2 separate regions of the Homo sapiens genome follow, and region 1 is linked to region 2. Evidence: promoter capture Hi-C in 16 types of primary human blood cells and fetal thymus (Javierre and others, 2016). All regions are on one chromosome and are shown on one strand. The core of a region is centred on a gene start or on the middle of the fragment in contact, and the rest is flanking DNA. Distances in the headings are between cores, read along the strand shown. Region 1 overlaps LOC105376015 (a long non-coding RNA gene). Region 2 holds the start of ACO1 (aconitase 1).

Region 1 (7,097 bases), core at 2,637-5,136, 220 kb after region 2:
CTTTATACATATACAGGTACAGCAAATTTAGGATTATTGATATCATTCATAAAGAAGAAAAGTCAGCTCAGAGAGATTAAATGTATAACCTGCCTAAAAACACAAACTCAAGGAGGTGGCCCAGGATCAAAGCCTAGTTTTAACACTAAAGCCCATGACCTTTCCTATGCTGCTATATATTTTCAAGAACAGTTTGCTGGCAAATAATTATTTAGCTTTAAGCCATAAATTACTCAACCTAAAGATCTACAGTGTTGTAAGAATGCAAAGTGAGCCTGAATTGAACAAAACAAAACAAAAAACAATATGTAGGGCTATGAACAAGGGATGGGAGTGGAGGAGAGACTATGATTTTTGTGTACTTCGAATGTATCAGGTTCTGTGGTCCAGTATTTACATACTTTTTCTCTTTTACTCCTTCCAACAACCCTGTGAAGCAGAGATTGTTATGTTCATGTTAACCGTCTCTCTCTCCGTCTCTCCTCTGTGGCTCATTTGCAAGGTTGACATGACATCTATTTTAATTTTGCTCAAGCTAAACTTATGCAGTGCTATGATATAAACTTCAGTTTCTCTGATCTACTGTAGTTCTTCTTGACCCTCTTCCTGGAAACTATTTATCACCCCTATGGAGAAAAACTTGAGGGCTGGCTGTTATTTTCTACTTACTTTTCTCTAGCCAGAAAATTTGTGAGAAGGAGGAAAGGTCATCAGGAGCTGCCTACAGTTGTTGCTAGCCTGGCTGGATTCTCTCTTGCAAGCCCCAGCAAATGTCCCTTACCAGGGCCAGTCTTCCCAGCATGGGACATTTTCTAACCCAAGGGCTTTGGTTGATCCCCCCATTCAGCAAGCACCCTGGAGAATGCCCGGCCCTGCCTACTCCTCTGCCTTAGCAAGGGTCTGCAGTGGCACGAAGAGTGGCTCCTACGCGTCAGTTTCCCCACCTCCTCGTGCCTCAATCCACTTCTTCCTCACATCAAGGCGAATTCAGAAAAAGTATCAGAATTTTGTTGACTCACCTTTCCTCATTTCTCTTTCTGAAAAGCAAGTGTCATTACAAGGTTGAAAGCCGTACAGTTGAAAGTAAAACTGTATTACATGAAGTTTTGCCCTTTTTTCAATCTTGATCACTGATGAGAAATTTTTGGCCCTTTAAAATGCAGTCATTTTATTCATTTTGTTAGGTACTGGGGGAAAATGCTCTCTGATCTGACTTCCTTTACCTCAAACTTTCAGAACAACTTTCAAGCAGGTGGGCCACACTCAGAAAAACCAAAGCCTGAAATTCAGTGTCAGGGTAAAAATAACATTAAGGATGGGGTGAAAAACAGTGAGCCTTATTTCACATTGACTTTAGAGGCTGAATTACAGCTAGATAGGAGGAATAAGTTCTAGTGTTGAGATGGCTTCTAATTTTATATTTACTTAAATCACATACTTATGTTTCCAAGAGCTTAAAAAAAAAAGGACAAGACACTTTGAAGTTTGTATCATTTCCAATACTAAAAATTCACTAAAGGTGAATCGTTGCAGGTTAAAAATCTCATATGCTAGGCCGGGCGCGGTGGCTCACGCCTGTAATCCCAGCACTTTGGAAGGCCGAGGCGGGCGGATCACGAGGCCAGGAGATTGAGACCATCCTGGGTAACACAGTGAAACGCCATCTCTACTAAAAATACAAAAAATTAGCCAGGCAAGGTGGCGGGCGCCTGTAGTCCCAGCTACTCGGGAGCCTGAGGCAGGAGAATGGCGTGAACCCCGGGGGGCGGAGCCTGCAGTGAGCCGAGATCGCGCCACGCACTCCAGCCTGGGCGACAGCGAGACTCTGTCTCAAAAAAAAAAAAAAAAAAAAAAAAAAAACTCATATGATAATAGACTTCAAAAACAACAACAAAAAAACCCAAAGCATCCTTATAATGACACAAAATATTAGAGTGGCATTAAAATGTGTCCCAAATATATAATATCATTTTCAAAAGATGTCGCCGTCTAAAAGCAACTGAGCTGAACATCTCTGACTTCACCATACTTTGCATTTATTTATCTTACAAAGTGAAACTAATTCTTTCATTACTTTTAGAGATTAATTCTGTGTGCTGACTTCAACAAGACGATGTTTTGCATTTGTGCTCAGCCACATTTTAAGCAACACCCTGAGAGAGTCAGTACTGTGTGCAGGGATTCAGCTGCACAGTTCACATCGAGATCAGCAAAAGGGTGGATAAATCCCTAGGTGCGGCTTTAATTTTGTTGCCAGGAAAAAAAAAAAACAAAAAACCCAACCAGTGTTCAGAGGCCATCAGGCTTAGCTTCTGCTCTGTGCCTCTGCGAAGTGCAATGCACAGGAAACAACACATCCTGGAGCCCCGACCCACTCTGAATTACAGCTGCCTGCCAGGCCCAGGAGGCTTGGTCCTAGGAGTCCAGCAACCAGGCTGTGCAGTGCGGCTGGGTCGAAAATTCCTGAGGGCTGATTATCTTCTTCTCAGCAGTTGGCAGGTGTGCGTCACCATCAGCTTAACTCTCCCTGTGTTCCCTGGATGACTCACAATGATCGCTTCCCATGTCACCTTAACCTAGTGAGCAAATTAGGAAGAGTTGTTTATTCATTTTAAACTATGATAATCCCTTCTAGTCACAATAGCTAAAGTGGTCATATGGCCACTGGCCATCACTATTGATCTTCTGGTATGTGTTGGGTATAGTTATGGAGGCAGAGTAGCAGTGGCCAAACACCTGTGTTCCGGGTTCAGGAACTGAAACCCTGGCTCCACCACTAACTATCTGCATGGCAGGGCAAGGTCCTTAACTTCATTAAACCTCCGGTTCCTTATTCGTAAAATGAAGACAATAATGGCACCCATTGGGAGGACTTAAAAAGCTAATACTGTGTATAGGAAAATTCTTAGCCCCATGTTAACATTCTCACTGATGCAGCTGCTGAAGATGATTAACATCTATTTTATTTAAGAAAGTTGATACCAAAGGTTTACATTTATATATTTTCCTAATTTAAAAAAATATTTTATATGACACATAATGATTTGTACATATTTATGGGGTGCATAGTGATGTTTCAACACATATGATGTATAGTGATAAGGTCAAGGTAATTAGCATAGCCATCATGTCAAACATTTATCATTTCTTTGTGTTGGGAACATTCTATATCCTCCTGCTAGCTATTTGAAACTATAGAGTATATTATTGTTAACTATCATCATCCTGTAGCGCTATATAACACTAGAACTCATTCCTTCTATCTAGCTGTAATTTTGTATTCTTCTACAAATCTATCCCTATGTCTCCCTTCCCTCTCCTTCCCAGCCTGTAGTACTGAGTTGCTTTACCAGTGATTAGGAATATAATGAAGTACTTCTGAAACCAGATGCTTTTTATTTTCAAGCTTTAAGCATTTATTTTCAATTGTACAAAACCATCTTGTTTCATGGATGAAGACAGAGAAATATAAGGCTTGCCTGAGATCACAAAGCTGACTAGAGGTAAAAATGCTACTAAAATTCTAGTGTCCTGATTTTCTTCCCAGGCTTTTTTGTCTCCATTGCCCTGCTTTTCCTTGTATGATCATATTCATCAGCGGAGACTCTCATATTCTAGCCATGTTCCTACAGAGCCATTCTAGATGTTAGTAATTTCACTTTTTGGCTGTTATAACAGAGAGCCTCAAAATAACACTGGGGCTAGCCTCAGTGGCTCATGCCTGTAATCCCAGCCCTTTGAGAGGCCTAGGTGGGTGGATCACTTGAGGTCAGGAGTTCCAGACCAGCCTGGCCAAGATAGCAAAACCCCGTCTCTACTAAAAATACAAAAAACTAGCTAGGCGAGATGGTGGGCAGGAGAATTGCTCAAACCCGGGAGGCGGAGGTTGCGGTGAGCTGAGATTGCAGCCACTGCACTCCAGCCTGGGCAACAGAGCAAAACTCTATCTCAAATAAATACAAAATAAATAAAAAATAACACTGGATTAAACAAGATACTTATCTCTCATGTTAAAATCCAGGTAAGCAATCCAGGGCTGGAATGGAGGCCCTGCAATCACCAGTTGCCCAAGCCTCCTGTGTCTTAATGCCCTGCCAATCTCAGCACCTAGTATCTGTTTTTGGTCTAAGGATGGCTACCCTCACTTCCACCTTCCCATCAGTGAGGATGTGGAAAGAGGTAAAAGCCTGGCTCCATTTAAGAGAACATGACATTTTTGCTCACATCCCATTCTTCTGAACTTAATCACATAGCTACATCTAGCTGCAAGGGAGGCTGGAAAATGGGACTCTTTGACTGCCCCCTGTGTAAGAAGGGGAGACTGGATACTGGAGTATAATTAATAGTTGTTGACACATGGACACCCTAAGCTTTAAGTAGTATGATATTTTTACAAAAATACTAGAGTTTTTAGAGTTTAATACAACAGCTAGAAGGTGTACATAGGTCCTAAGCATCAATGAAGGATCATTAATCCATTTCTCAGAATGTGATTCCAGACAGCAGCTTCCATCTGAGGGTCTACAAAGGTGGCATGGGGTTCTGCACATTATTACAAATATTTACCAAGCCAATGTATAAAAAGACAGGCAATAACAAATATTGACAAGGATGTAAAGAAACTGTAGCTCTTGTATTCTGCTGGCGGGAAAATGGTGCAGCCACTTTGTAAAACATTTTTCAGTTTCTTAAAATACTAAATAGAGTCACCATATGACCCAACAATTCAGCCATTATTATCTACCCAAGATAAATGAAAATCTACATTCACATGAAGATTTGTATATGAATATTCCTGAGAACATTAGCCATAATATCCAAAAAATGGAAATAACCCAAATGTTTTAACTGGTGAATGGATAAGAAAAATGTGGTATATCCATACAACAGAACACTATTCCAGTCATAAAAAGGAACAAAGTATTGACACATGCTTCAACATGAATGCATGTCAAATACATTAAGTGAAAGAAGACATAAACAAAAGACCATGGTTCCATTCATATGAATATAAATATATGAAATATCCATCACAGACACATCAATAGAAACAGAAAGCAGATCAGTGGTTTTGTGTGGCGGGGGTTGGGGGTGGTGCTGAAGGTGGAAATAGGAAGTGACTGCAAATGGGAATGAGGTTATTTTGGGGGTGAAGGAAATGTTCTAAAATTCCATTGCAGTAATGATTGCAAAACTCTTTAAACTTACTAAGAATTATTAAATTATACACTTTTATTTTTAGAGATGAGGTCTTGCTACATTGTTCAGGCTGCTCTCGAACTCCTGGCCTGAAGTGATTCTCCTGCCTTGGCCTCCCAAAGCTCTGGGATTACAGGCATAAGCCACCATACCCGGCCTGTTTTTAATTTTCTTTGCAGCCTTAGGAAATCTAGAATTCAAGGACACACCATGATTAGTTGCTGGGGATATTAAGTGGTTAAAAAAGCTGTGGCCTGCGCAGTGCTCAGGGATGGGAACAGGTGAACCAGGAGAGTGGCAACAAGCAATGGTAAGAGAAAACCCAGAGCAGAGTAATCACGCTGGACCCTTGCTGGGAGAACTAACCTTAAGGGGTGTGGAGGAGAGGACTCAAGTAGATAACAAAAACAGCACTCAGAGATATTCCCCAGTTCCCTGTGGTCCAGCTCAATCTTCTACAGTTTTCATGAGACTATACCACGCTGTGAGAATTGATATTCCTAATCATTCATTAATTCTTCACATATGCATCCACAAAGATTTCTTGAACCTCCTATTGCCAGGAGTAAGGATGTTCCTAAGAGCCCAAACCTGGTTTCTCGTTCTACCTCAGCTGCTTGTTCGAGTACAGGTCTCATCTCAGTATAAGTTTCTTCTTTCTTTTTTTTTGAATTTCAAAGAGCCTATATCTTCATGAATTTCATGAAAAAAAATTAAATAAACATGAGGTCTAAAATTTGCTTCTTGTGCCTGCAATAAATCTTTCCAGGAAGAACTACCTTCCCAGGTTTTTTTATCCTTTTGTTTTCCTTCCTTAATATTACAAAGTCCTTTCTGAGGTCATAAACCTAGCAACAATATACAACTTTAGACTTAAATGTGAAAAAACATTAAATGACCATAATTGACTCAGGATGAAGTGATCTAATCTGAATACCAATAATAAATTTTAAAAAATTTTTTCTTTATTCCTTCTAAAAAAAGAAAAACAGGATACATGTGCAGAACATACAGGTTTGTACATAGGTATATGTGTGCCATGGTGGTTGGCTGCACCTATTGATCCATTCTCTAAGTTCCCTTCCCTCACTCCCCACCCTGCAAGCAGCCCTGGTGTGTGTTGTTCTCCTCTCTGTGTCCATGTGTTCTCAGTGTTCAGCTCCTACTTATGAGTGAGAACAAGCAGTGTTTGGTTTTCTGTGCCTGTGTTAGTTTGCTGAGGATGATGGTTTCCAGCTTCATCTATGTCCCTGCAAAGGACATGATCTCATTCCTTTTTATGGCTGCATAGTATTCCATGGTGTATATGTACCACATTTTCTCTATCCAGTCTATCATTGATGGACATTTGGGTTGGTTCCATGTCTTTGCTATTGTGAATAGTGCTGCAATAAACATATATGTGCATGTGTTTTTATAGCAGCATGACTTATAATCCTTTGGGTATATACTCAATAATGGGATTGCTGGGTCAAATGGTATTTCTGGTTCTAGATCCTTGAGGAATTGCCCCTCCAATAATAAATTTTTTAAAAATCATAGAATTCACTCCAAAGAAATCTAACCCAGGTAGCTTTGTGGGCGAGCCTTTTTAAATATTAAAAACACATATGATTCTCCCTCTATAAACTCCTTCAAAGTTAAAATGGAAAACCTACCTAATTATAGACAAGAAACCAAACAAACAAAACAAAACCAAAACCTAAAAATACCTTGGTACCAAAACTTAAAACAACAGCAACAACTATAAACCAATCTTATGTGTCAATACAGATGCAAAAACCTTGGGTAAACTACTTACAAATTAGGCTGGGTGCAGTGGCTCTGTAATTCCAACACTTTCGGAACCTGATGCAAGAGGATTGCTCGAAGCCAGGAGTTCAAGAACAGTCTGGCCA
Region 2 (6,598 bases), core at 1,182-3,681:
TATTATTAGCTATACTGAGAGAAACTGTAAGCAGCTGCCCAGAGGATTCTTGTTCCCTGGGAAGGCAGCTCAGGGATCAGGCCCTTAGGCAGTAATTAAGAGAGCACGAAAATTAAACGTATAGCAGGTGTGGTGGGAAGAGGGCATCAGGGGAGAGCCGTTGGATATTTACCGGGAGCCAAGATGAGGCTAAGACCTGCCTCTCCTTGTTATGAATTTAACTCTTTTTTTCTTAAAGAGGAACAAAACGTTTATTTCAAATTTTCTCTGGTATGAAGACATATATTCAGTGAAAAATTTAGGGATTCTAAGGTCCCCTCAAAGCATTCAGGAGGACCACTGTGCATTCAGAGGACACTCTCTTGCCTGCTGCCAGGTAAGACATACCTGCTTCCCCTTCTGCCATAATTGTAAGCTTCCTGAAGCCTCCCCAGCATGCAGAACTGTGAGCCAATTAAACCTCCTTCCCTATGAATTACCCAGTCTCAGGGTTCTTTACAGCAGCGTGAGAACGGTCTAATACAGACACCTTTGGAATATCCAGGTGGGGTTGCCACATATGGCTGCAAATCAAGAGTGTGAAGGTCAGAAAGTTAACTAAGACCAATGACAGAGACATAGCAGGCTTCAGCTAGAAGTGGCAGGCAGTCTGCATACTGAGAAAATAGATGAAGAAAAACTCAGCAAATGGAGAAACATATAAAGCAAGAGGAGAGAGTGTAGGGAAAGACCTTAAAAAAGAGGGACAAAAGAGGGAAGAGGTGACTCCTAAGAGCGGAGGGCTGAAAAGCCAAAAGGAGGTTAACATTTCTAGGAAAACGAATCGCCAGTGTCAAATACCACAGAGTAGTGAGTAAGGACAGGAACAGAGGACAGGCCCTGGGATTCACGATCTGCACGTCACTGGTGACAACGTCCAAGAGCAACAGACTGGGGGGATGTGGAACTATTTCCTTCACGGTTTTGACCAGCGTGCTTACTAATAAATCTCAATTCCCTTCATAGCTCTGATTTGATTGTTTTCTGCGAAGGATTCTCAGTTACACGGATGTTATCATTGAACATTAGATACTTTGCTTTCCGAATGGCTGCCTCATTAAGAATCGCAATTTAGCTGGATGTGTCCTCATCGGACTTCCCCAGCCTTCTACTCACTCTCACCTTGCCCCTACTCTCCCTACCTCCCAAGGGGACTGGAGCATGATTTTTCAGGGATTGTGGTGCACCTCTGCCATATGGTGGACATTCAAAGAAAATTTAATTACTAATGTGAATGGAAAGGATTTAGGAAGTGGGTGGGAAAACAGTCTCCTCTCATATTGGAAATACAGTTACTTCCCCTTTCAAAATAAATATAAGTATTTATATTTCAAAGTTAAATATAACTAGACGATAGTTGTACCCTATAGTGCAGTATGACAGGGAAGGTGTAGGCTTTGGTGTCAAACCAACCTAAGGACTGAGTCTCAGCTGTTGCGCATTGCACACCTGCAAAGACGGGTAATATTCTTTACTTGTAAGGTGGTTGGAAGAGCTGAACTGAATAACGTGGAAAGAGTCGATCACAGGGCTTTGTGCAGAATAGGAGGGCAGTATAAAGTAGCAGGGGGGCTATTAGTACTGGCTATTGTTTACTCATCCTATAAGCTGCTTATTCAGAAAACTACAGTAACTTTCCAAATAATTTGGGCAGGAAAACCTCACCACCTTTCATCTAGAAAGATCTAATCACTTCTTTGAACGCCATTCACCCAAGAGGGCACAACTCCTACCAACATGAAAAGCAGATCTTGTGAAAGCCCACTTGCTGCCATCTCCCAGCCATTTCTCCGACTTCAGACCGGTGAACATCGTGCATTAGAAAGTGTTGTTACATGTCCAAGGAAATCTACATATAGAACTTTTGCCACGGAAATGCTGAAGTCCTATTCTGACAGCGTGACTCCGATGTCCACTTGGCAGGCTTTGCGCAAAGAATTAAGGCGAGGGTGGAGAGGGTGGGTAGGGTGGGGACGGACAAAGTGAGAAGGGAGGCGGGCCAAGTGACCACACGTACATGAAGCCTCTCCAGTTATGGCCAAATCATTTTTTAAAAATAATTCCATTTCTTCCCCACCCTTTGGTCACTTCCTAACGCCGGCTGGGGAGTCACATGCTAAGCTCCAAAGTGAGCAACAGACACCCTCGTCCCAGGTCCCATGCTGGCAGAAGCGGACCCGGGCCGAGGGATCAGCCCTCCCACTTCCAGCGGAGGAGCCCTTCGCAACCCTAGCCTCCAGCCCGGGGCGAAGTCCTCCAGGCCCGCGGGGGCGCCCGCAGGCTCCGCCCCTTCTTCGGCTAGCTGCCCGTCCGTCCCGCCCCTGCTCCGCCCTTCCCGCCCCTGCTCCGCCCATCGCGCGGCGGCCCCGGGGGCGAGAGGGGGCGGAGCGTGGAGGCGGCAGCTGGAACCGCGCAGCGCACGGGAACGCGTCCCGCTGCTTGGGTCAGGTTCGCCGGTCGCGGGAGCCCCGCCGTGCAGTCGGAGGTGAGTACCGACGCGGCCCGACCCACGTCCCCAGGCGGGAGCGCCGTCCACCCTGTATCCCTCGAGAGTCGGTGCGGGCCTTTACCGAGGTGCCCGAGGCAGTGGCGGCACGGGGGACACGGAGGCGAGCTTGGGGAGGCTGAGAGGAGAATCGGGGACGTGTTTCTGGCGACTGACGTCTCCACCCTGTCCCCAGTCTATGTCATGCCGGGGAGAGAAACCAGGGATTGGAAGTGGCTTTCCTAGACCCTTCTTAGCCTTGGCTGTGCGTGCTGTCCTGAAAGTCCTTGCCTAGGGTGTGCGGCCAGTCCTGGGAGTCCTAACCCCGAGGGTGTGAGGCCCGCACTGGGAGTCCTCGCCCAGGCCCGGCTGGCTGGATAGGGAAACCCTTGCTAAAGTTGTGCGGGCAGATCCGGGAATCCACTCCAAGGGGTAAAGGGAAAATGGGATGAGGGGGAAGAGACCCTTCGTGGGAGGCTTGAACACAGAGCCCACCATGATAGATTCAGAGATCTAGAAAGGAGCTTGGGCTGCAGTTATGACCAAGTCATTTTTTTCTAGATTCAGCTAGCACATCATAATGGCATCTTCCTTCTTGCAACACATGTAACTCTCTTCCCTGGGGGACAACCTCTAGGACAGAAGTCCCCAAACTTTTCTGGTACTCAGTACTCCTTTACACTCTTAAAAATTAGTATCTTAAGGAGCTTTTATGTGTGTTATATCTATCCATATTTATAATATGTAAGTAAGACTGAGAAATTTGTACTATAATAATTCATTTAAAAAGAATAGTGAACTAATTATATCTTAACATTGCCTATTTTTATGAAAAAGAACTATATTTCCCAAAACAGAAAATGATTGAGAAGAGTGGCATTGTTTTACATTTTTGCAAATCTCTTTGATGTCAAGCGTAATTGAAGACAGCTGGATTCTGATAGCTGCTTCTGCAGTCTGTTGCAATATCACATATCATGTAGCCTCTTGAGACCTCCACTGTATACTCCTGAAAATGTGTGAATGAAAAAAAGCAAGTAACATTTTATTACTAGGAAAATGGTTTTGACTTTGGAGATCCCTAGGAGTTCTCTGCACCACACTTTGAGGATGCTGGTGTAGGAAATGCTTCAGAGGCTTCATTCATTGGGCCTGCTTCTTGTTTGTGATCCTTCCTCTGATTGGGAACACACACCACCTCATGCCATGGACAGTATTAACCTCTGGTATCTGGAACCAAGTTTGATCTCACTTTGGAAACCATGTACTAGGTCCCCACGTGAGGCTGTGATGAACCTTGCCAGCCTCCTGAAAAGTCAGCAAGGCTTCGCACATGCCTTTGGTTGTCTCTGTGCTTGCAGAGCTGACCTGTCTGTGCATCAGGATTACAACAGTGATGTGGCAAACAGGACCTGTAGGCTCACAAAAGTGCCAGTGGGGAGACCATGCCAAGTGTGTAGGGGTTCCTGTGAGAGTTACCAAGTAGTCAGGAAGTTATTTCCAAAAGAACAAGGAGGCATGCTTTTGCCTTCCCTTGCACGTGTTCATTTCTGTTTGCAGTTGCATGGTTATTAGCCTTGAGTTTATTGGAATAATGATTTCCAGTCTTGACGTTCTTTCACTTTCCACTTTCAGAGGGTGTCACTCTGAGTGGTGCTTCCTCAGCCCCTGTCAAAAAGCAGTTTCCACCATCCTGGAGTGTGGTAGGTGAGGTCCTTCACGGGACTCTTTCCTTAGCTTCGTGCCTTGTCAGAACAAGTTCAAGACAGATGTTATGTGTATATATTTGGGAGGAAGAAATTTTCTAACTCCATCCTCCCTTTTGTTCCTTCATCCATAGAGCCTCTTGTGCTCTGATGGATCAGTTTAAATGCTACAGCCGATACTTGAGAAATGTTGCATGCACATGAGCGTGTTGTGTGTGTTGCACAGTCCACAGGTGAGGAGGAGGAGAAGTCCACAGGAGAAGGAAATGGGATCTAAACTCTGAGCACCTGCTGTGTTCTTTGTATTAAAAAATTCCACTTTGATGGTGGGGTCTCATTCCTTCATTCTTTCAGTAGATTTTTATTGGCCACCTATTTCTCATGTGTCCAGTTATGTGCGGGATGCCAGGAAAGTAGTGAGCACAAAAGATGCAGTCCCTGTCTTTCTGGCAATTATGGTCTGATAGCTTTGATAACTGCTGGTTAATTGAGATAGTCTATTATATAGTCAGAGTGTGTACATGAAAGCTGGTCCTGTGTGAAGAGCAGTACCCCCTACCTAAAGTGTGCTTCAAAGGCATGTGCTGAAGAAACCAGTCCCACACTGTGAAGATGATGATAAAAACCAACGTGTATCACCACGTGCCTGGCAAAGAACTTCCTTTGCCTTCTTTCCCCCACTCTTCCTTCTACATAGGAAGTAATTTCCTGTGAGGCAGCCAGATTCACAGGGAAATTACCTCCAACCTGGTGCCAGTCACTGGGCCAGCCTCGGGTTAAGACACTTTCTCTGGGTCTCAGTGTCTTTGACTTTAAAATGAGGAGTTAGGCCATTGATAGTAAGTGTCCCAAGGAGCCAGTGGTTTCAGAGCTGGTTTATACTAGCATTTGTGCATATCTCTTCCTAACTCCGTGTTCAGTGGCAACACATTTTTTAGATTGAAATAAGCCATGGTGGGAATAATAACACCATGGAAATTGGCAAATGCTACATCAGAGCTTTTTTTTCCTCTTGGAGTTCAAGTTGTTAAACCTTTGCCAGCTGACACTGCTATTGTCTGAGCCAAGGTGCTTTTGGTTTGTTTTTTTAGTAGAAAACAGACTCTTTAGCCTAGACAAAGATCCTAGATATAGGGTGTATGATTCAAGTCCTCTAAAATTTTTGATAAGGAAAAAAATCTGTTTTCATCATATTCTAAAATATAGATCAGCAAACTTTTTGTGTAAAGGGACAGGTAGTGAAATATTTTAGGCTTTTTGGGTTATGGTTATACAGTTTCTATTGCAGCTACTCAGCTCTGGTGTTGAAGCACGAAAGCGGCAATAGACAACATGCAAACAAACAAGCATGGCTGTGTTCCAGTCAAACTTGATTTACAAAAACAAGGGCCAGCCATAGTTTGCAGACTCCTGACCTAGACTATCAGAACAAGAACCATGTTTCAAAGAGAGAGTTTTATGGAAAAGGAGATTCTTCAGGACTTTATGCGTGAATACCAGAAACTTGAGTCTCCAAGATGGACGTAGCGGGCAGTAGTAACTGTAGAGGATTTGGAATCAATCATGGAAGACTCCATAGTAGGTTGTTTAAAGGAAGGCCAAGTGTGTTGAAGTTTTGAGGACAGAGCCACATATGGGTCTTATTCCCAACTCCCTCCCTGGAGCCATCTCAGATGTTATGCTAGAATGGATGTACCTGCAGTCTAACCCGTTGTGTGAATTTTGCATATTATTATGCAAAAACTAGTAGTGTCTCTAAGAGCTGTCTTGATTCCAGGGGCAGAGACAAAGGAAATGTTAAAAAGGATGGAAAGGCCCAGGCACCGTGGCTTACGCCTGTAATCCCAGCACTTTGAGAGTCCAGATCGCTTGAGCCCAGGAGTTCAAGACCAACCTGGGCAACATGACAAAACCCCATCTCTACCAAAAATACAGAAAAAAATTAAAGCCAGGTGTGATGGCACATATCTGTAGTCCCAGCTACTTGGGAGGCAGAGGCAGGAAGATCACCTGGGAAGTCCAGGCTGCAGTGAGCCATGATTGCATCACGGCACTCCAGCCTGGGCAATAGAGTAAGACCCTGTCTCAAAAAAAAAAAATCCTCGTTATATATGTATATGATACATTGTAGAGTACACTGTGTGTGTATACCTGTGTGTATGCATATTTGTACATCTATGTGTACATAAGTTGTGTGCATGTGTCATTACATATTCCATTCCATGTATTTAAAGTAGCATCATGAATGTTTAGAAGATAGACCAGTAGCCAGTTCTGGGCAGTGGAATGAGGTAGAAGGAAGCCAGAGAACTTTTGTTACTTTTCATAATAACAGATGTGTGCCTATCTTATAAGGGAGGATAGCCTG

The links. Contacts are between HindIII fragments. The CHiCAGO score rates a contact against its expected background, and 5 or more counts as called.
Region 1: a fragment that was not itself captured here is called in contact with the fragment with the promoter of ACO1 in region 2 in 2 of 17 cell types (naive B cells and monocytes); the score reaches 6.0 in naive B cells.

The regions. Positions count from the first base shown.
Region 1 is chr9:32,601,892-32,608,988 of GRCh38, forward strand. It overlaps LOC105376015 (a long non-coding RNA gene), which reads right to left. Exons shown (of 2, transcript XR_929553.1): 1 at 7,001-7,097; 2 at 2,016-2,576. Among named protein-coding and RNA genes, the nearest start is that of TAF1L, 30 kb to the right of the region's middle. The HindIII fragment of the contact is 964 bases long and covers 3,405-4,368 here.
Region 2 is chr9:32,382,212-32,388,809 of GRCh38, forward strand. It overlaps ACO1 (aconitase 1), which reads left to right and starts at 2,432. Exons shown (of 21, transcript NM_002197.3): 1 at 2,432-2,524. RefSeq lists a silencer at 2,233-2,612. The HindIII fragment of the contact is 14,350 bases long and covers 414-6,598 here.